Linked DNA regions of Homo sapiens: regions 1, 2, 3, 4, 5 and 7 are each linked to region 6. Evidence: promoter capture Hi-C in 16 types of primary human blood cells and fetal thymus (Javierre and others, 2016). All regions are on one chromosome and are shown on one strand. The core of a region is centred on a gene start or on the middle of the fragment in contact, and the rest is flanking DNA. Distances in the headings are between cores, read along the strand shown. Region 1 overlaps ZNF221 (zinc finger protein 221). Region 2 overlaps ZNF404 (zinc finger protein 404). Region 3 overlaps ZNF45-AS1 (ZNF45 antisense RNA 1). Region 4 overlaps ZNF283 (zinc finger protein 283). Region 5 overlaps ZNF45 (zinc finger protein 45). Region 6 holds the start of ZNF235 (zinc finger protein 235). Region 7 has its middle 4.7 kb from the start of ZNF404.

What was found. Contacts are between HindIII fragments. The CHiCAGO score rates a contact against its expected background, and 5 or more counts as called.
Region 1: a contact is called between a fragment that was not itself captured here and the fragment with the promoter of ZNF235 in region 6, in 2 of 17 cell types (non-activated CD4 T cells and M2 macrophages). The highest score is 9.5, in non-activated CD4 T cells.
Region 2: a fragment that was not itself captured here is called in contact with the fragment with the promoter of ZNF235 in region 6 in 8 of 17 cell types (neutrophils, activated CD4 T cells, M2 macrophages and 5 more); the score reaches 8.3 in neutrophils.
Region 3: a fragment that was not itself captured here is called in contact with the fragment with the promoter of ZNF235 in region 6 in 2 of 17 cell types (naive CD4 T cells and non-activated CD4 T cells); the score reaches 6.3 in naive CD4 T cells.
Region 4: a fragment that was not itself captured here is called in contact with the fragment with the promoter of ZNF235 in region 6 in 2 of 17 cell types (M2 macrophages and M1 macrophages); the score reaches 6.6 in M2 macrophages.
Region 5: a fragment that was not itself captured here is called in contact with the fragment with the promoter of ZNF235 in region 6 in 9 of 17 cell types (total CD4 T cells, M2 macrophages, non-activated CD4 T cells and 6 more); the score reaches 10.3 in total CD4 T cells.
Region 7: a fragment that was not itself captured here is called in contact with the fragment with the promoter of ZNF235 in region 6 in 1 of 17 cell types (M1 macrophages); the score reaches 6.1 in M1 macrophages.

What each region holds. Positions count from the first base shown.
Region 1 is chr19:43,960,177-43,963,949 of GRCh38, forward strand. It overlaps ZNF221 (zinc finger protein 221), which reads left to right. Exons shown (of 5, transcript NM_001297588.2): 2 at 2,549-2,631. The coding sequence starts at 2,551. Among named protein-coding and RNA genes, the nearest start is that of ZNF221, 11 kb to the left of the region's middle. The HindIII fragment of the contact is 4,158 bases long and covers 22-3,773 here.
Region 2 is chr19:43,869,134-43,872,878 of GRCh38, forward strand. It overlaps ZNF404 (zinc finger protein 404), which reads right to left. Exons shown (of 3, transcript NM_001033719.3): 3 at 3,232-3,745. The coding sequence ends at 3,422. Among named protein-coding and RNA genes, the nearest start is that of ZNF404, 13 kb to the right of the region's middle. The HindIII fragment of the contact is 3,147 bases long and covers 753-3,745 here.
Region 3 is chr19:43,905,472-43,909,276 of GRCh38, forward strand. All of the region lies in intron 1 of ZNF45-AS1 (ZNF45 antisense RNA 1), which reads left to right. Among named protein-coding and RNA genes, the nearest start is that of ZNF45-AS1, 5.5 kb to the left of the region's middle. The HindIII fragment of the contact is 2,882 bases long and covers 439-3,320 here.
Region 4 is chr19:43,842,154-43,845,406 of GRCh38, forward strand. All of the region lies in intron 6 of ZNF283 (zinc finger protein 283), which reads left to right. Among named protein-coding and RNA genes, the nearest start is that of ZNF283, 16 kb to the left of the region's middle. The HindIII fragment of the contact is 4,496 bases long and covers 1-3,253 here.
Region 5 is chr19:43,922,585-43,926,279 of GRCh38, forward strand. It overlaps ZNF45 (zinc finger protein 45), which reads right to left. Exons shown (of 10, transcript NM_003425.4): 4 at 2,741-2,874; 5 at 1,818-1,977; 6 at 1,654-1,726. It overlaps ZNF45-AS1 (ZNF45 antisense RNA 1), which reads left to right. Exons shown (of 3, transcript NR_184050.1): 2 at 2,558-2,670. Among named protein-coding and RNA genes, the nearest start is that of ZNF45, 11 kb to the right of the region's middle. The HindIII fragment of the contact is 2,032 bases long and covers 881-2,912 here.
Region 6 is chr19:44,302,965-44,306,593 of GRCh38, forward strand. ZNF235 (zinc finger protein 235) reads right to left here and starts at 2,061. Exons shown (of 5, transcript NM_004234.4): 1 at 2,007-2,061; 2 at 426-488. The coding sequence starts at 440. RefSeq lists enhancers at 1,844-2,397, 2,974-3,475, 3,476-3,629. The HindIII fragment of the contact is 5,796 bases long and covers 1,628-3,629 here.
Region 7 is chr19:43,887,054-43,890,341 of GRCh38, forward strand. No RefSeq gene overlaps it. Among named protein-coding and RNA genes, the nearest start is that of ZNF404, 4.7 kb to the left of the region's middle. The HindIII fragment of the contact is 367 bases long and covers 1,633-1,999 here.

The DNA.
Region 1 (3,773 bases), core at 851-3,350, 340 kb before region 6:
CATGCCCTAGGGATTTCTGGAAGCTTGAACTTAAGAGTGATAACTTAGGGTACCTGGCAAAAGAAATTTCTGAGCAGCAAAGCATTCAAGAAGTGGCCTGGCTGCCTCACTGCTTCAAACAGCCTACAATTATATATGGGAGCAAAAAAATGACTTAAAGTTGGAATTTATATTTAAAAGGTAAGCAGAGTATAAAAGTTTGGAAAATTTGCAGCCTGGCCATTTAGTAGAGAAAGAAAAAGCATTTTTAGGAGAGGAATACATGTCGGCTGTGGAGCAACCACTCGCAAAAGAGATTTGCATGACTAACAGAAAGCCAAGTGGTAATATCTGAGACAATGGGAAAAAGACCTGGAAGACATTTCAGAAGTCTTCAGGAAAGTCCCTCCCATCACAGGCCTAGGGGCCTAGGAGAAAAGAATGGTTCCAAGGGCCAGGCCCAGGGACCCCCTGCCCTGAGCAGCCTCAAGACATTGTGCCCTGAATCCGGCCACTCTGGCTCCAGCCTCAGCTTAGAGTGCCCCAGGCGCAGGCTGGGTTGCAGCTCCAGAGGGTTCAAGCCTTGATAGTTGTGGTAGTTTCCACATTGTGTTAAGGCTGCAGATGCTCAGAATGCAAGCATGAAGGAGGCTTGGCAGCTTCTACCTAGATTTCAAAGGATGTATGAGAAAGCCTGGGATCCCAGTCAGAAGCCTGCCACAGTGGGGGAGCCCCAACAGAGAACCTCTACCAGGGCAGTGCCAAGGAGAAATGTGAGGGCTCCCCACAGAGTCCCCACTAGGGCACTACCTAATGGATCTGTGGTAAGGGGACCACTGCCCTCTGAGAAGTGGTCCTGAGACCACTGCTCAGTCATATCACTTGGCTGCCCAAGGCCTTGGGAGTCTATCTCTTATACCAGGATGTGGGACATGGAGTCAAGGATTATGTTGGAGCTTTAAGAGCCCTGGCTGGAGTACAGTAGCACAATCCTAACTTGCTGCAGCCTTTAACTCCTAGACTCAAGCTATCCTCCTGCCTCAGCCTCCCAAGTAGCTGGGATTACAGGCTCAAGCCACAGCACCTGCCTCTTCATATGCTCTTTACCCAAATTTTCCAATTATTTACATTTTGTATTTTGCTTTGTTAACACCCATCAGCCAAATACCACTGGGAACAAACTTATAATGAGAAACAACTTATTGTAGCTTTCTGCATCAAGGAACCCCACATAGCAAGGTGATCATGGAGTGTCTTGGTAAGAGGCATTTAGGAAGGGCTGGCTATAGAGTTTCATATAAGATGCTAGGTAGTATTAGATATAATATTAAGTAATATCACTATTAAATACTAGATATCAATTAAAAGACTATTAATATTAGTTAATTCTGTTACCTATTAGATATGGCTAGACACCATCATCTTTTCTATCCAAACTCCCATATTTAAATTTGTTGTGCTTTTTAAAGTTCTTGTAACTGTTTTCCCCCATCCCCCAGTCCAAAGTCCAATTTTATGTACTGCTTTTAGGTGTCACATTTCTGTAGTCTTCTTTAATCTAGAAAGATTCAACAGGCTTTGTCTTTTTATTCTTGACATCCTTGAAGTATATAGGCAAAGTATTTTATAGAAAGATAGTCATTTGGGATTTATGTATTTCATGTTTAGGTTCAGATTATGCATTGTTGGTGTGGATACCACAGAAGTGTTGAAGTGTCATAACAGGGGCCAAATGATGTCTGTTTTTCCCTTCATTGGAGATCTCAACTTTGTTCACTTGGCCAAGATGATATCTTTCAGATTTTTCCACTGAAAGGTTACTTTTTAATTAAATTTTGAAAATAAAAACGTTTCTTACGGGAGATACATTATTAGTGGGCATTATCCTGTAAAGATTAGCTTCCACTTCTCCCTGATTTATTAATCAGTTTCTTCAACTATAAATATTCTATCAATATGGACCCACAATCCAGTTAAATAACATGTAGATTAACTGTTATTATTTCCAACTTTATTGAGGTGTATTTTACATGTCATAGAATTTACCCATTTCAGTCGTACGATTTAATAATCTTCAGGAACTTTGAACAGTGGTGTGACCGTCATCATAATTCAGTTTAGATCATTTTCGCCCCCCAATTGGACTCCTTGTGCTTATGTACAGTTAAACCTCATTCTCACCTCAAATCTGGAGCAACCACTAACCTACTTTCTCTATATATACATTTGCTTATTCTGGATATTTTATAAAATTGAATTTTACAATCCATGGGGTTTTTAGACTGGCTTCTTTAACTTAGCATAATGTTTCCAAGGTTCATACATGTTGTAGCATGAGCCAGTTCTTCACTCCTTTGAATTTCCAAATAAAATTCTGTTGTATGGATATGCCATGATTTGTCTATTCATTTACCCGTAGGAGGGCATTTTGCTTGTTTGCAGTTTGGGGTTATGAGTAATGCTGCTATGAACATTCATGTGCTAATTGAAAATACTTGTCTATGTTGGTGGTCGGCATTCCTAGTTACCATTTCCTGTCTGTTTTTCTGCCTTTCCTGGCACTTTCCAGGCATGATTTCACCTTCACTTGAACTGCTTCATTCAGGACTCTGCAAATTCCCTGAAGTAGAAGGAAAAATGACCACATTCAAAGTGAGTAGGGCTTGCCTCTCTTGCTGTTAAAATTCCATCTTACTACTCATATTGTCACATTTTTATCTGTCTTGGGAAGACTCAAGGAGAACAACAAGCATTTGAGGGCATTTTGTTTGCCAGATGCTTCCTTTGCTGCTTTTGAATTGACTTTCCGTTTGGTTTTAGTTCTTGTTTTCTTACATAATTTCTTTTCTGTAGTAGATAAAATAGTAGGAATGGATAATTCTTTCACTTCACTACTTCTCTGCTCACAAATTAGCTGTTTTTATCTTGTATTCTTCATCATGTACATTCATAACTGTATTTTTATTGATGACATACCTCTAATTTTAAATTGTGCTCGTTTTATATAATATTATATAATGTTCCATTTTTATATTGGTATCATAGTCCCAATGAATTAATGTACCTTCTTATTTTTAACTACTTCACACTCATAGACATTTAGGTGGTTTAGGAATTTTACTGTTTTAAGCAACACTGCTGTGACAGCTTTCCTATATATAACCCCTTCCCCCCAAAATTAATTCTGAAAACAAGATAGGATACTTTTGACATGTATTACATTGGCTGTTTTATAGATGGTAGATTATTTCAACAGGGCACAGCACATGAGGCTCTGACTGCTACTTCCCACAAATATTGTTGTTGGAGTTTTCACACAGGAAGAGCTAGATTCTGTGTTTGCCATGCCTTACTCATACCTTGTATGCATGTTATTTATTGGTCTCTTCTTATTCCTTTATGGAGTAAGCAGTTTTACCAAAGTAGTAGGTACCTTCATTTGAAATGTCCAGTGATACTGGAAGATTGGCCAATCACTTGTGTTGTGTTACTATATTTACTCAGAGAAGCAGAATGCAGGTTTTAGTCTCATCTTCCTCTTAAACTCATAAAATATGAGAAATCTGCTCAGATTCACATAGGCAACCAAGGTCAGGAATGTTAGCCATTCTGCTCATTTATAATCAAATAAGTGAGAATGATATTAATACAATGAATTCTTCTTCCTAATCATATTACCGAAACCATGGGAATATTTACAACCTGCTCTTAACCATCATAAGGAGAATAAGGGTACTTGTGTTCACTCGGAAGAGTGGGAAGTAGGTAAAAAATTTGGAAGAAAGTATGAAATT
Region 2 (3,745 bases), core at 1,076-3,575, 430 kb before region 6:
TGTCAAAGAAAAATTTCTGTTAGGTATCAAAAAATATTTCTATCACAATAGATGATACACCAGCTGTATTAGGTTAAAAATCTGAATTCCTTGGAATTTTAATGCAAGAGACTGATGTCTCCCTAACTGCTTTGCTCTACTGTATAAAGAATATACCTATGAAGTATATACATGTAAATATTATGAATCACGACTACTTCATGGAACTGTTAAAAGAAATAGAGGTCAGGCTTGGTGGCTGACGCCTGTAATCCCAGCATTTTGGGAGGCTGAGGGGGGCGATCATGAGGTCAGCAGATCAAGCCCATCCTGGCTAACACGGTGAAACCCCGTCTCTACTAAAACTACAAAAAATTAGCCAGGTGTGGTGGTGGGCACCTGTAGTCCCAGCTACTCGGGAGGCTGAGGAGAATGGCATGAACCTGGGAGGCGGAGCTTGCAGTGAGCCGAGATCGCGCCACTGCACTCCAGCCTAGGTGATAGAGTGAGACTCCGTCTCAAAAAAACATAACAAAACAAAACAAAAAAGAAATAGAGAACAATTAATCTTATGTTCTTTCCCAATGCTCATCTGTTTAATGGTGTAAGACATTTACAAAGATTTCTCGTACTTTGAACTCCAGTTCAAGATTTTCTTTAAAGAAAGTTTTCCAAATATTTAATAATAAAGGAAAAAGAAGACAGTGATTTTTTTTCTCACCAGTATCACATTGCATATGAATAAGCAAAATCTGAAACTCCAAGGAAAGGAAAGCTTTTTTTTCGTGACCTAGTGAAAATAATAGGAACATTCATTGAAATGAAAACTTTTCACTGTATAAGTTCATAATAATGATTTTATATATTTTTCTAGCATGAATCAATATATAGAGGATTTTAACAGGACTGAAAAGCCTTGTGAAAAGATGCATGCAATGAAGAAATAGGCAATCTTAGTAAAGAAATAGGAACTATAAAAGTACTAAAGGAAAATTCTAGAACTGAAAAATGTAATATCTGAAATTAAACAATTTGATAGATAGGCTTAGCAGCAGAACTGAAATGACAGAGAAAAAGAATAAGTGAATTTGAAAACAGAGTAACAGAAGTTGTCCAAGCTGAAGAACAGAAAAAAAATACTGAAGATAAATAACAAAGACAGTGACCTGTGGGACAGTACCAAAAGATTTAACGTATGAGTAGAGTAAATGCAGAAAAAATATTTGAAGATATAATGGCCAAGAATTTCTGGAATTTGGTGAAAGGCACATGTGTGCAAATTTCAGAGGCTCAGAGTACCCCAAGCAGAATTAACACAAAGAAAACCATACCTAGGCACCTCATACTCAAACAGCTGAAAACCAAAAGTAATAAGAAAATCTGGAAAGCACCCAGAGAAAAAGGACACATTACATAAGAGAAAAAACAATTCAAATGACTTCTTCTTGTAAACTATGGAGACTTGAAGACCAGAAGTCGGTGATTTATATATACATATATGAAACAATATATATCTCTTTATGAGTATATATATGTGTGTGTATTCTTTGTGTGTGTGCATATACACACACATATATTCATATATCTCCAAAAAACTGCCAACCCAGAATTCTATAGCCAGAAGAAATCCTTAAAAAATAAAGGCATTTCAGTAAAAGAAACTATGAAAATTCATCACCAGCAGACGTTCACTCCAAGAAATGCTAAGTTAAGTTCCTCAAACTGTAGGGAAATGATACCAGAGAAAAATTCAGATCTCTGGAAAGAAATAAACAGCATGGGAAATAGTAAATATATGGGTAAATATAAAAGATGAGGATTTTCATCTTAATTTCTTTAAGCAACTGGGTGTAGCACTGTGTGCCTATAGTCCCAGCTACTCCAGAGGTTGAGGCAGGAGGATTGCCTGAGCTCAGGAGTTCAAGGCTGTAGTGTGCTATATAACATCTGTGAATAGCCACTGAATTCCAGCCTGGGCAACATAGCAATACCCCATCTCTAAAAATAGAATACAGAAGACTGTTCAAATTTCCAACATGACTTTCCATGGATTACTTATTTAATTGCAAAGAAAAAATTCACCCATAACAATGGAAGGAGCTGGTGGTCAATACATGAATCAAGGGATAAAACATAGTTTCACTTGTAGGCCACCTGATACTTTACAATATTAAGTACATGATACTATCTATGAAGTAGTCTTTTGAAAATGTTTAATCTGAAACCCAATCAAGCCTCTAATCATAACCTCCAGGTCACAGTAAATATAGAGGACAAAGAAACAAGTTAATCACACCTCCAGAAACAATAAGACAAACACAGCATGTGCAACACTATTTAGGTCAAATCTAAAGTCTTCAAAAAGTCTATGTCACAAAATGATGAAGGGTAGGCTCTTGACTAAAAGAGACTTAATAAGCCATAATCATATAAAATATATGAGATTAGTTTGGTTCTTGGCTTGTGAAAAAGACAGTGCTAAAAGACATTATTTTAAAAATTGGAGAAATTTGCAAATGGAGTGAATATTTTAAGACATTATAGGGTTACTGTTAATTTTTTTGTGACAATGGTGTAGTAGACATCTAGAAGATTATCTTTGATCCTAGCAGTTGTATGTTGCCTTTTTTTTAGAGGTGAATGATACCTAAAACATTCACTCAAAAAACAGGAAAAGTGATATATGTAATATATACATATATTCATGTGTAATAAGTATGATATATATATATATGCATCTGTGTATATACATAGACATAAGACATGCATGGTATATATGTATTTGTGTGTATATATGTGTTAGTATACACATAAAAAAGAGAGACATCAGATGTACTGAAACTAGGTGAAGGGCAAACAAGCCTTCACTGCACCACTGTAAACAGCTACCTTTTCTGTAAGGATGTAAATCTTAACATTTTCATAAACTTAGGGAAAACTTTTCCAAGTTAATATCTGTCTTTTGGCTACCTAACTGTTCATTTCTAATTTATTTTAATTGTAGAGGATGCAAAATATGTGTTATCTGTATTATAGGATTTGTGAAAAAATTTCTTTAAACCACTCTCTAATTTTCAACAGCTATCCTTTCATTATTCAATAAATACACATTATTTATTCCAGCATTAATCTTCAGGGGTATGAATTCTGAATTTAAAAATTTCTCATTTAATATATTCTACAGGATTTTGTCCAGAATAAATTATATGAAGTGATGATAGAGCATTTTCAAAATATCACACTCATAGGGTCTTCCTTCTATAAGATTTATTTTTAGTAATTCTAACAATTATCATAAAAATAATGTATTTAGTAAGCAAATACGATGTGCCAGATGCCTTTCCAAGTATTTATATTCTATATTAACTAGTTTAATCTTCACTATAGCATCATAATAGTGACAACAGTAAAAATGTGCCATGGCTAAAGGCTTTCCCTCTCATTACATTAAGAGTCTCTCACCATGGTGAAATCTTTGATGTTGACTAAGTTGATAGCAATGACTAAAGGCCTTACCACATTCTTTGCATTTCTGTGGTTTCACACCAGTATGAATTGTCTCATGTTGAGTAAGTCGATCACTGCGATTAAAGGCCTTATCACATTCTTTACATTCATAGGGTTTTTCACCAGTATGAATTCTCTTATGTTGAGAAAGACCTGAGATAGAACGAAAGGCCTTCTTACATTCTTTACATACATAGGGTTTCAAACCAGTATGAATTGTCTGATGATAAATTAGTTGAGAATTAAGTCTAAAGGTTTT
Region 3 (3,805 bases), core at 630-3,129, 400 kb before region 6:
TGTTTCTTAAGATAAACACTGTATTCGTCCATCAGTGACTGATATGGTTTGGATCTGTGTCCCCACTAAATCTCATGTCAAATTGTAATCCCCAGTGTTGACGGTAGGGCCTGGTGGGAGGTGAATAGATCGTGGGTGTGGAGTTCTCATGAATGGTTTAGCACTATCCGCCTTTGGTACTGTATAGTGAGTGAATTCTCAGGAGATCTGGTTGTTCGAAAGTACATGGCACCTCCTCCCTTGCTCTCTTCCTCCTGCTCCAGCCATGTGATTTGTGCCATAAGTAAAAGCTCCTTGAGACCTCCCCAGAAGCAGAAGCCACTGTGTTTCCTGTACAGCCTGCAGCACTGTGAGCAACTAAACCTCTTTTCTTTATAAATTACTCAGTCTTAGGGATTTCTTTATAGCAGTGTGAGAACAGACTAATATAGTGACCTAAGCTTTTACCTTAAGAAACAAGAAAAAAAGAACATCTGAAACCCAAAGTAGGCAGAAGGAAACAAAAAAAAGAGAGAAATCCATGAAATGTGCACACCTGTTCATGATAAAAAACACATTCAACAAATTAGAAATGGAAGGGAACTTCTTCAACATACCACCTATAAAACACCCACAGCCAATATCATACTTAATGGTGAAAGACAGAGTACTTTCTAAGATCAGGGACAAGACAAAGATGTGCACTCTCACCACTTTTTTTTTTTTTTTTTTTTTTTGAGACAGGAGTCTTGCCCTGTTGCCCAGGCTGGAGTACAGTGGCGCGATCTCAGCTCACGGCAACCTCCGCCTTCCGTGTTCAAGGGATTCCCCTGCCTCAGCCTCCTAGTAGCTGGAATTAAAGGCACCTACCACCACGCCCGTCTAATTTTTGTATTTTTAGTAGAGATGGGGTTTCACCATGTTGCCCAGGCTGGTCTTGAACTCCTGACCTCAAGTGATCTCCCTGCCTCAGTCTCTCAAAGTGCTGGAATTACAGGCATGAGCCACCACGCCCAGCCAACTCTCACCACTTCTATTTGATACATGCTGGAGGTTCTAGCCAGGGCAACTAGGCAAATAAATGAAATAAGAGACATCCATATGGAAATGAAGAAGTACAATGAAGAAGTAAAGCTATATTTGCAGATATGATTTTATATACATAAAGTCCTAAGGAAATCACAAAAAACTAATAAGACTAGTAAATGAGTTCAGCAAAGTTACAGGAAGATCAATATGCAAAAAAATTGTGTTCTTACACACTAGCAATGAATAATCAAAAAATGAAAGTAGGAAAACAATTCCATTTACAACAGAATTTGAAGAAAATACTTAAGGAATAAAGTTAACAAATGAAGAGGAAAGTTTGTACACTGAAAATTATAAAACATCATTGAAAGAAATTAAAGACGACCTAAATAAAAGGAAAGACATCTGTGGTTCATGGATAAGAAAAGTTAATATTGTTAAGATGCCAATACCTCCCAAATTGACCTATGGATTCAATGCAGTCCTTAACAATATCCTAGCTGGCTCCCCCCTCCCAACCCCACTGCCTCTAGAAATTGACCAGCTGATCCTAAATTCATATGGAGACACAAGGGACCCAAAATAACCAAAACAACTTTAGAAAGGAAGAACAAAGTTGGAGGACTCGCATTTCCCAATTTCAAAAGTTACTGGAAAACTACAGTGTGGTACTGGCACAAGGGTAGACATAGAGATGAGTGGAATAGATTTAAAAGTCCAGAAGTAAGTCTTGACACTGTCGATTCATTTTCAATAAGGGTGCTACGGCCATTTAGTAGGGGAAAGAATAGTCTTCTCAACAAATTATGGTAAGACAACTGGATATCTGTCTGCAAAGAAAGAATGAAGTTGGAATTCTACTTTATACCATACACAAAAATTAACTCACATCACTGACCTAAATCCTATAGGAGCTAACACTATAAAACTCTTCAAAGACAACACAGGGGCAAATCTTCATGAGCTTGGAATAGGCAATGATATTTTGGATACACCAAAAGCATAAGCAAAACAATAAATAGGAGTATATCAAAATTCAAACTTTTTACTGCAAATGATACCATCAAGAAAGTGACAAGATACCCACTGAATGGGAGACAATATTTGCCCATCATACATATGACAATGGACTTGTATCTAGAATACAAAAACTCTTAGAACTCAACAATAAAAAAAAAATGGATAATCCAATTTCTGGAAGTCAGTCAGATTTCTGGGATGATCACTCCCATCCTCACAACAACAACAACAACAAAAAAAACTAAAGAAATTAATTTTTTCTGGATCTGTCAGATAATAGAGGTCACAAGGCAAACCACCAGCCTTAAATCTGGAGAGACAAGCAAACGGAGATCAGCTTACTTGGAGCAGAAGGACCAAGGTAAGACCATTTAGGCGGGGAAAGAATATTGGTAACTAAGTGTTACCAATAACACTGCTAATTAAGTATTACCAGCTAATTGGTAATATTTACTAGCAGTGTAATTAAGTATTACCAGCTAATTGGTAACTAAGTGTTGGTAACTAAGTGTTACCAATTAGTTGATAACAAGTAATTAGCAATGCTATTGGTAGGAGCGCTTAATTGGTAATTTAGAGAATTCATTGGAGGCTAGCTTCAAAAATCTTCCAGGGACGCAGTCTTAGGGGGAGCCTCACACTTTCATGGAATTTACGTCCAGTAATGCTACTAGGTTCTCATGGTGAATTTACAAGAAAAATCTCATGTTTTGGAGGAGGACAAAAGTAACTATTTTGAAATACACTGAGAGTGTTCCACATAACAAAGGACTGCTATCCAAGGGAAATGACTTTATCAGATACTTATATAACTGGGGAGAAAGGCAATATGTCAACTCGCCTTCCTGTCTTACCTAAGGGGAAAACAGAAAGACTAAGAACTGCGTCTGAAGATCACAGGCCAGGGACTCAGGCCCACTAAAAGACAGATTAAATCATATGATTGTAGAACACTTCCCCTCTCCCCACACTTTACCACCATATCAATAGGATTCTTGTATAACAACAGGATAATAAAAGTGAGAAGGCTGCAAGACACAGATTCTATTTTTAAAGTTCTTAGGGAAATTCAAAGACAACAGGGAAGGAAAAAGAAGGGACACTACAGAAAGGTAAAACTGAAACCTCTGACACCTTCAGCTAAATCAAACATTAAACACAGCCCAACACCTAGCCAGATTAACATAAAACCTCACACTTAACTGAAGCTCCCACATTGCCTGCTATATAGCTGTCTACAGCTGTGTATTCTCCTGTCCTGCACAATGTAATCACACTCTGCAAGAAGCTAAAGCTTACTGGCAGGCCCTTACTTATCTAGGTATATCCAAACTCTGATGAATGACGGCACACAGGGACCTACCATTGCCAATGACCTACTCTTCTGCATCAAGGAACTGCAGATTAGATTTGTCCTTGTCCCATTCTATTGGCTCCTCATGTGATGCCCTTTTGGTGTAAGCCAATGCCCTACAAACTAGCCAACTTACACCCATTGGTGCCACACCACTTAATTTCATCCTTTGGGTGAAATGACCCCTACACAAAAGCCTTTAAAACTATACTTCCCTTCATGCTTAACAGTTGGGACCTGGACATGATAACTACCCCTCTGTGGTCTCCACAGTGACCTCCACAACCACATCAGCGCCAGTCCCATTGTCCAACAATCCATGCTTCACTCTGCACTATTCCTTCATCATGACACCACATCCTACTTTCTTCAACTTGCCAGATAATACATGTGAAACAGTAACAGAACATGTCATCCAAGAGA
Region 4 (3,253 bases), core at 228-2,727, 460 kb before region 6:
AGGTGCAACCCCCAGTCTTTTTACTCTTTGTACTTCAGTTTGGTAATACCTATTTACCTGTCTTGAAGTCACTGTTTTTTTTTTCTTTGATAGTGTCCAATTATTGTTAAGCCTATCCAATAAAGATTTCATTCCACCTACATTTTATAGTTATAGAATTTACATTTGGTTTTGTGGGTCTGCTTTTATTGACTGTATTTTCTCTAAATCTTGTGTCAAATTTTCCTGCTTCTTTACCGGTCTTACAATTTCTCATTGTATACTGGCCATTGTAGATGCCATGTTGTAGTGACTTGGGGATTTTATTATCTTCCTAATAGTTAAACTGTTCAGGCAAGCAGTTAAATTAATAGCAGATCACAATGATCTTTTTAAGAGTTGATTTTTGAAGGCAGGTACAGTTTGGTTTTATCCTTAGTCCTGGACATAATTCTTACTCTAGGTAGGGCAGTGGTTCTCAAACTGTGGACTGAAGACCCCTGGGAGTTCCCAAGAACCTTTCAGTGGGCCAAACCTTTCACAAAGTGAAAAATATTCTCATAACAATACTGAGAGGTTTGCCTTTTTCACTGTGGTGACACTTCCACTGGTGGTGTAGAAGCCATGGTGAATCTTCTCTGCTTTAGCATGAGCAAAGGCAGAGGCACCAAATAGTACTAGTAATCATCATATTCTTTACCTCCACACACAAAGAAAATGTGTTAAGAAAAAACCCATTTTCACTTAAGAACATCTTGAAGAAGCAGTATTCATTTTATTAAATCTCAACCCTTGATTATATATACATTTAAAAAATATTCTATGTAATGAAATGGGAAGTATCCATTAAGGTCTTCTGCTGTATACCAAAGTATGATGGTTGCCTTGAAGAAAACCACTTGTACAGTTGTTTAAGTTGTGAGTTAAAGGCCAGGCTCTGTGGCTGATGCCCGTAATCCCAGCATTTTGGGAGGCCAAGGCGGACAGATCACAAGGTTAAGAGATCGAGACCATCCTGGCCAACATGGTGAAACCCCATCTCTACTAAAAATACAAAAATTAGCTGAGCATGGTGGCACGCGCCTGTAGTCCCAGCTACTCGGGAGGCTGAGGCAGGAGAATCGCTTGAACCCGAGAGGCGGAGGTTGCAGTGAGCCAAGATCGTGCCACTGCATTCCAGCCTGGTGACAAAGTGAGACTACGTCCCCACCCCCAAAAAAATTGTGAGTTAAACCAACTGCTTTTTTGACAAAACACCATATTTTTCACCAAAGAATGAAAAACTTTGTTTGTTCAGACTTGGGCAGTAGGAAAACATTTTCTTGCAAGTGAGCCTGTCACTTCAAAAATAACTAATATTTGTTGCCAATGATATAATTCAATCTGTCATGTTAAAATTAGAATTTTGTAAAATGTTTATTCATAATTTTGAGCTTTATAGCTTCCTAATACATTAAGATTTTTTATGAGATGGGTGGTAATATTAACATGTGATTTTTTGATGTTGTATAGTGAACTACGTCAACATTTCAAAGATCTGCATAACTCTTTGAATCAGTATTTTCCAAATGACCAGTGTATGATGTTACAAAATTACACATGGATAAAAGATTATTCAAAGTGCAATGTAACATAGTATGAAAAGTTCACAGATATGATTTTATATTCCACATTGTACTTAACCTGCCAGACACTACCATTTCTTAAGTTTTAGGGTGGTGTCAAAGAAAAATATCCACAGTTATCTGCATGGACTAGTAAAATATTCTGCCATTTTCCAACTATGTACCATGAGAGGCTAGATTTTCTTCATATACTTCATATATATGATTTTCTTCATATATTTCAACCTAAATAACATATTGCCATAGATTGAATGCAGAAGCAGATATGAGAATCCAGGTGTCTTTTATTAAACCATCCATTTAAAAGATTTGAAAAAATTTAAAACATCTTTTGTTTTGTTTTAGAAAAGATTATTTTTATAACAAATCATTTATGTTAACAGTTAATGGTTTATTGTTATTTTAAGTGAATTAGTAAATATCTTAAAATTTCTCTGTTTAAATTTTTAACATGACAAATATCAAAATATATAACTACATAAACTAAAAGTCTTTTGGGTCCTCAATGATTTTTCTTGACATTTAAGAAGTTAAACCCATATTTATTTACTGACACTGTAAAACCTTACATAAAACATAAGTAGTAAGTAACTAAAATGTTAAATCTAAATCTATAATGTTAAATTAAAATCTAAGCCTTACATAGAAATTAAAATTCGCTAAACTACTGATGCTATGTTGTACAAAACTGTACTCCTTTTAGTTCATAATTGGTCACCTCCATATTCAGTTGGAATATTAGGTTGGTCAGCTTAAATACTGTGGCTTTGTTTTGGTTATCCACAGAATCTTTACACCCAAATGTTAATGCATAAAAAGCAGCAAGACATTGTTAAATGAAACAGCAATAGTGCAGTTTAGACCTGTGACCAACTATATATGATTAAACTTACTTCCCACATTCACATCACAATAATCATCCATCATTTAATAGCTCAACCAAAATGTTATACAGTCATCAACAGGCAAGGCACATGAAAACCCCGCACAACCAAGAATGATTTGGGCCCAAATGTCAGTAGATTTGAGTTTGGAAAAACCTTCTTGTAGTTGTTAAGGCTCAATGGCTCTGGTTAATTTAATATAATAAACAACAACTTCATAATGGAAAAAAATTAAATCCTCTATTGAGGTATAAAACCTAATTAATTTATAAGGATAAAGTAAGTGACTACCTTGAAGTCAAAACACATTATGGACAATGAAAGAGTATTACGATTGTTCCAAATTGACAAGGGTATTTAAACCTAGGTACACAATCTTTCTTAAAATTAATTTATAGAAAGTCATAACCTGTGGGTACATGAATATGAATATACATCTTCTCCAACTTGACAAGTACATTATTGCTGGGACAGGTACCTTTTAATAACAAGTAACTTATTAGCCTAGAAAGGCCAAACTTCTCTTTTTATTGTCAGCTTTTGGTTTTTAATATACCTGGGGTTATATAAACAAAAACACAGTCATAGTAGTTTTGGGCTAAGTAAATTCTGGATTATGTCAAAGAAACCTGATTGTTTCTAGTATCTTTTGTAAGCGAAAGAGCAAATCTTTGTGCTTGCTCAGTGGCCTTTTAGGAAACCTGAAAGGCAGATTTTATGTGAAAGACATAATCTGTTACAATCTGTTTCATTATTCTGAATTGG
Region 5 (3,695 bases), core at 647-3,146, 380 kb before region 6:
CTATTTATTCGCTATGAAATCCAGGACAAATTATTAATATCTCTGTGCCTCAGTTCTTTCATCCATAAAATGAAGAGATTAACAATGAGAGAATTAACAATCTCATAGGATTGTTTACAAATTAAATGAGGGAAAAAGCTCAAAGAATATTTTCAGAGTACCTTATTTCTTAGCTGCAGAAAAGCACATAACATAAAACCTGTGCTCATTAATGGTTTCTACCAATAAATTCTTTGTTTTTTTTTTTTTTTTTTTTTTTGAGAGAGGGTCTTGCTCTGCTGCCCAGGCTGGAGTGCAGTGGCACAATCATGACTCACTAAAGCCTTGACCTCCTGGGCTCAAGCGATCCTCCCACCTCAGCCTCCCAAGTAGCTGGGACCACAGGTGTGCACCACAATGTCCAGCTAATTTTTTTACTTTTTGTAGAGACGAGGTCATGCTATGTTGCCCGAGCCAGTCTCAAACTCCTGAGCTCAAGTGATCCTCCTGCCTCAGCCTCCCAAAGTGCTGGGATTACAGGTGTGAGCCACCACACTCAGCTGATGAATTCTTTAGTAGAGGTTTTTTAACCTCTACTTTAACCTCGCCTTTAACCTCTGAAATACCTGTTATTCTCTCTTGGTTTCCCATACTTAATTTGAGGCTTTTGCAATAGTATTTAAGATTACAGTGGTCCTTCCTATCCATAGTTTTGCTTTCTGTGGTTTCAGTTACCTGAAGTCAACTATGGCCCAAAAATAGGTGAGTACAGTGCAGTAAGATATTCTGAGAGAGAGAGAGAGACCATGTTTATAGAACTTTTGTTACAGTATTTTATCATTATTCTATTTTATTATAAGTTATTGTTGTTAGTCTCTTACTGTGCCTAATTTATAAATTAAGCTTTATCATAAGTATGTAGGTAAAGGAAAAACATAGTATATTTAGGGTTCAGTAATATCTGAGGTTTAAGTCATTCACTGGGGGACTTGGAAGGTATCTGCTGTGGATAAGGGGGGACTACTGTACATAGATGACTGCTTTTTTTGATAGTAAAATATGTAACATAAAATTTACCATTTTAACCATTTTTTAAGTGGTTACATTCAGTAAGTACATTTACATTGTTGTGCAGCCATCACCACTATCCATCATCAGAATTTTTTATGTACCCATTAAGTAATAATTCCCCATTCCCCCTCCCAGCCCCTGATAACCACGTTATCTCTATGAATTTGACTATATGGACTGGTTTCTAAAAGGTATAAGACCTTGCAAAATTTGGCTGTGTAGAGTGGCTCATGCCTGTAATCCTAGCACTCTGGGAGGCCAAAGTGGGAGGACTGCTTGAGGCCAAGAGTTCAAGACCAACCTGGCCAACAGAGTGATCTCTAAAGAGAAAAAAAAAAAATCTAAAAAAAAAAAAAAAGACCTTGCAAAATTTACTTTAACAGTAGGGCCTTAAAAAGACTATCATAGAGACAGAGAAAATTTAATAAAAAATCATGACTCTGCAAGATTTATGCAACTATAAATTAGATAATGTCACTGAAATTAACAAGCTATAGGAAGCACAATAATAACAACAAAAATGGTGATATTTAACTAAATACATATTAGGGACCTTATGAAGAACTTGGCACATGATGTTTCATTAAGGTACTTCACACATACCTGTGAAGAAGCTACTGTTGTATCAGTTGTGTGACCTTGGTCCAAACACCTAAACTTCTGTGCCTATGCTCAGCTATAAGAAGGGAAATGAAAACAGGATGTTAATCATAGGATTACTGTGAGGAATCAATGAGTGAATTTATGCAATGCCCTTGGCATAGTACCTGGCATTTTAGGGAGTTCTCAACAGATGATAATGACGACAATTGTATCCATTTAACAGGCGAGGAAGCTGAGGCTTGGTGAGGTCAAGAGGCAGGAACAGTACCTGAATCCAGCTTTCATACCAGAGCCAGTATTCTAAATCTTGTCTCTCTGTTGCTTCTAAAGACAAAAATAAGCAGATGGGAGTCTAAGATCTCATGGAAGGAGAAATGAGGGCTCCAGAGTTAGGGGTAAAAGACAGACACAGAAATGGAGATTGGACTCTGAAGCCAAGGGAGCTGCTTGAGGGAGTAGAGAACAGAGTTGTGAACAGTCTAGACTCCAGAACCAGCCCACCAGTACTGGAATACAGGCATGTCCAACTTGCTAGTACTTTGTGCTCTAATGTCTAATCTATAAACTGGATGTAATAATAATACCTACTTCATAGGAAGGTCAGTGAAAGTGACTAAGTATACACAAAACATGTGGAACAGTTTCTGGCAGCTTAAACAATCAATAGAAGTTACACATAAACCCATGCAGATGCTTTACATGAAACAGTCAGGGAGCCCCTCCCTTGCTGCTGTGGACCAATGTCTGTGTCCCCTCAAAATTCTTATGTTGAAGCCCTAATGTGATGTTATTGGGAGGTGGGGCCTTTAGGAGGTAATTAGGTCATGAGGGTGAAGCCTCCATAATGGGATTGCTTTCCTTGTAAGAAAAGCAAGTAACCTAGCTCTTTCTCTCTTCCTCCCAGGAAGATACAAGACAACAGCTTCTGCGAACCAGTAAGAGTGGCCTCATTAGACATTGGATTTGCCAGTGACTTGATCATGGACTTCCCAGTCTCCAGGACTGTGAGTTATAAAGGTTTGTTGTTTAAGCCACCCAGCCTATGGTATTGTTTGTTATAGCAGCACAAATGGACTAAGGCACTCACGGAGTCTGCAGCTTCACATGGCTTGATGATGGGGAAACATGGGCTGGATTCCAGATTCCACTTGACCCTTCAGCAGAGAGCCTCTGCACAGTGAAAAATGGAGTTCTTGTAGCTCTCAGGGTATGATTCTGATTCTATGGAGGGTGGAAACGAGTAAAATACCCAGATTAAAAGCTTAGTATTAGTTAATTACTGCTTGATTTATTAGTAAATTATTCTTAGTTCTCTTACTTCAGATAGAAGAACCCTTACTATTGAAAAGGGAAACATAAAACCTTCCAATCTTAGAAGAAATACTTATTTATTTATTTTTCTGAAATGGAGTCTTGCGCTGTGGCCCAGGCTGGAGTGCAGTGGAATGATCTCAGCTTACTGCAACCTCAGCCTTCCGGGTTCAAAAGATTATCCTGCCTCAGCCTCCCCAGTAGCTGGATTATGGGCACCCGCCACCATTCCTGGCTAATTTTTTTTGTTTCTTTTGTTTTTTTAGTACAGATGAGGTTTCACTATTTTGGCCAGGCTGGTCTCGACCTCCTGACCTCAAGTGATCCACCCGCCTTGGCCTCCCAAAGTGCTGGGATTATAGGCGTAAGCCACCACACCCAGCCTGAAATACTCTTTTAGAATTTGTAATTCACTTTGTTCTAACTCTATATTTGCCCAGCAACCTCTGCTCAGTAAGAATGTTTTGCAGGGGATATATTTCCATCGCCTCGGGAAAAAAAAGAGATAATAGCAAATCAACCATCTGTCTTGTGATGAATGTTTATTCAGCTTTATATCCCAAGTACCTAAAACAGTTCCTGTACAAAGTAATTGCCCAGCAGAAATGACTGAACCCACCATCAGACATGGAGAGGCATATAGGAAGACTAGACTAGTTGGTCTAAGTCTCCCTGAGACTGACTCCAGTTGGGAAGATTTGGAGAGCAAGGGTTTTATTTCCAAATTTTTC
Region 6 (3,629 bases), core at 811-3,310:
CGTATATATGTATATATTTATATATAAATATATACATATATACGTATATATTTATATAAAATATACGTATATATTGTATACATTTATATAAAATATACGTATATATTTGTATATATAATACATATATACAAATATACGTATATTTCTTATAAATATATACATATATATTTGTATATAAATATAAAATATATACGTATATATAAATATATAATTATATAGAAATATATTTTAGAAATTAACAGATATATATATATCTCTCTGTTAATTTTTATACTATTATATTGAAATAAAAGGCAACAACCTGGCATATAACAACATTCCAAGTGCCTTTCGTTCCCTTTTACTGTTCCCAAACAGGAAAAATGTGTCCAATCTTTGTGAAATGAGATGTCATTTTAAGAAACACAAAGGCAAACCAAACTTACCTGGAACTTGGTCATTTTTCCCCTCCTCCTTCTGGGAAAAGGCAGAGTTCCGGGGAAGTGAACCTGAGGGAGGGAAAGGCATCATGAGATAGGTTAGGGATGGCATTAGTCACCATGGCACTTTTATGTGACACTTCAGAGAAAGGTCCCCCTGTCTCTAGGCAGACACAGTTGCACACGGCTTAGTGAGGAGAACGGGAGCTAGCTCCCAGCTACCCCTCGGCCCCCTCAACCAGCTGCTTTTGTTCATGAACATTTCATATTAACAGACCTAAATCAAATACAGCTCTCTGTGTACTCCTTCTGAACTTTAGTTTCCAAGGAAATGAGACACAGACAGGCAGGGGAATGTAACAGAGCCAAAATGCCTGGCTTCAAATTTTGGCATTTCTACCTATTTTCAACTGATCAGCAGTATAAACCTTAAGCGAATTATTAATCTCTCTGTGCCTTAATTCAGTTACCTGTGAATGGGGACAATAATAATGCCTGTATTCTCTATTTCCTGCAGCTTCTGACAAGCAAGTGCTATTATGCTTCATAAAACTGCCCTTTTGAGTATGCTTTCTAGAAAATGAATCTTTTAAGAAACCCAGAACTCAAAAATAATTGCTCTGTCCTGTGAGTTACCATTACCCTCAGAAAAGTCTGTAACTGTGATTGGTTGTCTAACATAATTAGTTCCGTTGGTAATGATAGTTAAACTGCCACAGGTTTTTTTTTCCTCCAACAGATGTAATTACTTGCAAATGTTACTAAGCTGGAGGAGCCTCAAGAAAGTCTCTTTTTCCACATGCATGAAAGCAATGACTAATAAAAACCTAAAACTCTCTAAGAAATGGTGTTACACTTAAGTTAACCACACGGGATTATTGGTTATAACCACATTATACTGAACATTTATTAGGGCCTCAGGACACCTCTGGCACTCTGCAAATCCGTAATGACGATCGCTTATCTGAGATAAAACACACAGGACATTCCCCAGGCTCCGCTGGAACTAATTCCTGTCTCCTAAACAAGAGGCTAGAAAAGTCCAAGAATCCAGGAACGGCCCCACATCAGGCAAGGATTAGAGAAGGGACAGCGGCTCCGTAGCTGGATCTCCTAGACTCAGAGGAGTTTCCAAACAACAGGCGTCTTTTTCAGTATTATAACAGAATTAACGGTGGCATCCAACATTTTCCTATGCACTGGTTTTAAGCTTATTTCTATAAAACCTCATTTAATTCTCACAAGAACATCACTGGGAACGCACTAACCCTTTACAGGCACGAGGAAACTGAGACAAGGAGAGATTAAGTAACTTGCCCAATATTTTACTGCGAGGAGCAGGCAGGACTGGCTGGTAGGTGCGTGAGGACGGCTAGGGCAGCAGACCCTCAACCTCGAAGGACGACGCGAGCCCGCCTCCCACGCAAGAGGTTCTGCCGAGGGGACGCAAACTCCCGCAGCCTCCCAACCCCGCCCTCCAGCGCTGGCCGCGGCTTCTCTTCCCCAAGCCAAGGACGGGTTCATTGCTGGCCCCACGCCTAGGCAAAGAGGGCTCGGAGAAGTCTTGGAGACCCGGAGCTGACTCACCTCCCTGGGAGATATCTCAGATCCGACCTCGCCTTCCTGGAGCGGAAGTGCCTCCGAGTGCCCACGGTTCGTGGACTCCACTTCCCAGAATTCCTAAGCGGAAGCGTCTCAGAGTTCTCTCACTCCTGGACTACAGTTCCCAGAATGCTCCAAGGGCAGCGCTTCCCACCAGCTGGGCTTTGTTTTGACTCAAGCCGGTTGGGTTTGAGCCACTTCTCTGGTGCTACTACTGTGAGATTCGTTTTTGTTTTATTCATTTTTAAAAGCTCATGAGAAAATAATTGTAAAATTTTTAAAGTGATGACATATAAAAATGAAAAGTGCAGCTTGTATTATTAAAATAAGTTAGAAACCAAAATTTTTCGCAGAAGCAGAGGGTAGGCTAAAATGGGAAGCGTAAAAGTGACTTAGGCTGAGCTCCGATGGACGCTGAACGTTAAGGAACACCAGATCTCAAACTTGTGTCAAATGCCGGCTCCCCAAATATCATCAACTCAACCTGTTGATAAGACAAAAAACAGAATTTATTGTTGATTGCAGTAATGGAGAACAACACTTCGACGGAGCGTTGGCACCTTCACAGAGCAAAGTGTCAAGGCAAGGTTGGAACTGATTGAGAACTGGATGTTTAAGGCGGGTCTTTCAATGCAAGGGATTTTATTAGTATTGCATAATGATCATGATACTACAGTCCAGGATTGGTGGATATAGCAAGGATTTTTGAAGCAAAGAATCTTAAATTGCAATCTATTGACACTTTCTTTGGAAGAGATTGAAAATTTGATGGGTCTCTGTGGAAGTTCCCATAATGAACAATTAAACAGTTTGCTTGGGCAGGAATCTCCTGGAATAAAGGCCTGCTGATGAAGACAGCTGAACAATCATGTTAGTGCCGAAAGTAAATTGTGATGAAACGGGAAAAGTTCACTTCTCCCTCTCCCAGGGCATGTGATGGGGTGTGGCTCGCTTCTTCGTGCCCAGCCGCTCAAACCTCTAGGGGAGCATGCACACGGGCAGGTTGTAGGGCTCCAACCCCACGGCAGTGTCTAGGGGTGAATGTTTACAGCTCCTGAAGCCCCAGTGGGCGTGTGTTATAGGGTGCTTTTTTAGTTCAGCCATCTGTAGGAGGCTTGTGTTAGCTCAATTAGACCCCTGACTTATCGCAAGCAAGAGAGGGCTTTCTGTATCCCAGAGGTTCTTGCCTTGGTGTACCAGAAGAATCGCATCACACATAGGCTTGGAGAAAGAGTGCAAGGATTGGAGAAACCTTGGAGAACGATTTGTAAGTAGCTCTCAGCAGAAGGGGGAGCCAGAAGGGAGATGGTTTTCGCCTGGAGTCAGCCTCTCAGCGGCCTGGGCGCTCCTCCGACTACCCAGGCCAAACTGCGTTATTCCACCGGTTAATGGCCTGCTGGCCTGCCGGTCTCTTCAGTGTGCTCTTTTGCCGACCCGCTCCCCTCGACAGCCTCTCGACAGCCAGCTGTTTGTGTGTCCGCCAATGCTCTCCTCTCAACGTCCAGCAGCTTGTGTCTCTGCCTGCTAGGGTATCAGGGTTTTTATAGGCACAGGATGGGGGCGTGGTGGGCCAGGGTGGTCTTGGGAAATGCAATATTTGGGCACAAA
Region 7 (3,288 bases), core at 566-3,065, 420 kb before region 6:
AGATGAAATGGAATAATAAAAAAAAACTTAATTTATACAAAAAAATCAGGAAAAGAGCAATTAAAAATATAAAGAAACAGAAAACATATAGCAAGATGGCAGGCTTATATTACAGTAAATATAAATTATAGTATATTACTACAGTATAATTTATACTTATACTAATTATAGTAATTATAGTAAATACAAATGAACTAACCATTGCAATTCAAAACTAATATTATAAGATTAGGTTAAAAAGAAAAATAGGATCAATTAGGCTGCTTACAAGAAACGTTCTCTAAATATAAAGACACGTGTTTAAAAAAATGGAAAAAATCTATCAAGCAGTATTGCGAAGAAAACAGACACAGCTATACTAATAACAAATAAAGTAGATTTTAATGCAAGAAGTATTGTAAGTAATAAAGAGGGTCATATTCTGCAATTCAGCAAGAATACAACAGTAGTCCTATATTTGTATGTACCTAATAACATAGTTTCAAAAAATATAAAATAAATGTCAACAGAATTAAAGGACAGACAAATTTTAAAGTTAGAGATTTCAACACTCTCTATTGGTAACTACTAATAGGAACACCAAAAAAAGAAAAAAAAATCCACAAAGCCATAAAAGTGTGAAGAAGATTAACCAAATTGAACCAAATGAACATTATACCAAACTGCAGACTACACATTCTGTTCAAATGATTACATCACATTTATCAGAATAACATTCTGGGCTATAAAGTAAGTATCTATAAATTACAAAGGATTAACATAAAACAATGTATATTTTCTGAGCCTTTACAATTAGCTTAGAACTCAAAAAGAGGCAGTTCTCAAATGTTTCCAAATACAGACATACTGTGGAGATATTGCAGGCTTGGCCCCAGACCACCATGCTAAAGTGAACATTGCAGTAAAGTGAATCACATGAATTTTTTGGTTTCCCAGTGCATAGAAAAGATATGTTTATACTGTATTATTCAGTGTGTAATAGCATTATCCCTAAAAAATACGGTGCATACCTTAATTTAAATATACTTCATTGCTAAAAAATGCTAATGGTCATCTGAGCCTTCAGAGAGTCATAATCTTTTTGCTGGTGGAAGGTATTGCCTTGATGTTGATGGCTGCTGACTGATCAGGGTTGCTGAAGGGTGGGATGGCTATGACAGTTTCTTAAAAGAAGACAATAATGGGCCAGGTGCGGTGGCTCATGCCTGTAATCCCAGCATTTTGAGAAGCTGAGGTGGGTGGATCACAAGGTCAAGAGATCGAGACAATTCTAGCCAACATGGTGAAACTCTGTCTCTACTACAAATACAAACATTAGCTGGGCATGGTGGTACGCACCTGTAGTCCCAGCTACTCGCTCGGCAGGCTGAGGCAGAAGAAGCGCTTGAACCCAGGAGGCAGAGGTTGCAGTGAGCCGAGATCGCTCCACTGCACTCCAGCCTGGGTGACAGAGCGAGACTCTGTCTCAAAAAAAAAAAGGCAATAATGAAGTTTGCCACATCAATTGACTCTTCCTTTCACAAGAGATTTCTCTGTAGCATGTGATGCTGTTTGATAGCATTTTACCCACAGGGGATCTTTTTTCAAAATTGGGGTCAATCTTTTCCAACCCTGGTGCTGCTTTATCAACTAAGCTTGTGTACTATTCAAAATTGTTTGTTTTTATTTCAACAACATTCACAGCATTTTCACCAGGAGTAGATTCCATCTCAAGAAACCACTTTAATTGCTCATCTGTAAGAAGCAGCTCCTCATCCATTAAAGTTTTATCATGAGATTGCAGAAATTCAGCCACATCTTCAGGCTCCATGTCTAATTCTAGTTCTCTTGCTATTTTTGCCACATCTGCAGTTACTTCCTCTACTCAAGTCTTGAACCCCTCAAAGTTATCTGTGAGGGTTGGAATCAACTTCTTCCAAACTCCTGTTAAACATTTTGACCTCCTTCTATGAATCAGGAGTGTTCTTAATGGCATCTAGAATGTTAAATCCATTCCAGAAGCTTTTCAATTCACTTTGCCTAGATCCATTAGAGAAATCACAATCTATGGCAGCTAGAGTTTTATGAAATGTATTTCTTAAAAAATGAAACTTGAAAGTTGAAATTATTCCTTGATCCATGGGCTGCAGGGTGGATGTTGTGTTAGTAGGCATGAAAGCAAAATTAATCTTTTCCATACATCCCCAACAGAGCTCCTGGATGACCAGGTGGAACGTCAATCGGCAGTAATATTTTGAAAGGAGTCTTTTTTTTCCTTTCTGAGCATTGGGTCTCAACAGTGGGTTTAAAATATTGAGTAAGCCATGCCATAAACAGATGTGCTGTCATTCAGGCTTTGTTGTCCCATTTCTAGAGCACAGGCAGAGTAGATTTAGCACAATTCTTAAGGGCGCTAGAATTTTCAGAATAGTGAATGAGTATCACCTTCAACTTATAGTCACCAGCTGCATTAGCCTCTAATAAGAGAGTCAGCCTGTCCTTTGAAGCCAGGCATTGACTTCTCTCTAGCTATGAAAGTCCTAGATGGTATCTTCTTCCAACAGAAGACTGTTTTGTCTACATGGAAAATCTTTTGTTTAATGTAGCCACCTTCATCAATAATCTTAGCTAGATCTTCTGGACAACTGGCTGCAGCGTATATATCAGCATTTGCTGCTTCACCTTGCACTGTTATGTTATGGAGATGACTTTTTTCCTTAAACCTCATGAACCAACCTCTGCTAGCATCCAACCTTTCTTCTGTAGCTTCCTCATGTCTCTCAGACTTCACAAAATTGAAGACAGTTAGGTCTTTGCTCTGGCTTTGGCTTAAGGGAATTTTGTGGCTGGCTTGATCTTCTATGTGGACCACTAATCTTTCTCTGTATTGCAGTATCTCCATATGACTCGAGAAGCACTTTTCATTTCCTTCAAGAACTTTTCCTTTGCATTCACAACTAGGCTAACTGTTTGGCACAAGAGGTCAAGCTTTTGGCCCGTCTTGGCTTTTGACATGCCTTCCTCACTAAGCTTAATCACTTCTAGCTTTTGATTAAAAGTGAGAAACAGAGGACTCTTCCTTTCATTTGAACACTTAGAGGCTATTGTAGGGCTACTAACTGGCCTGATTTCAATATTGTTGTGTTTCAGGAAAACAAAGAGAGGAAGAGAGACAGGAATAGCTGGTCGGTGGAGCAGTCAGAAGACACATAACATATATTCATTCAGTTCACCGTCTTATATGGGTGTGGCTCACGGTGTCCCAAAGCAATTACAACAGTAACACCAAGGACCCTGATCACAGATCAC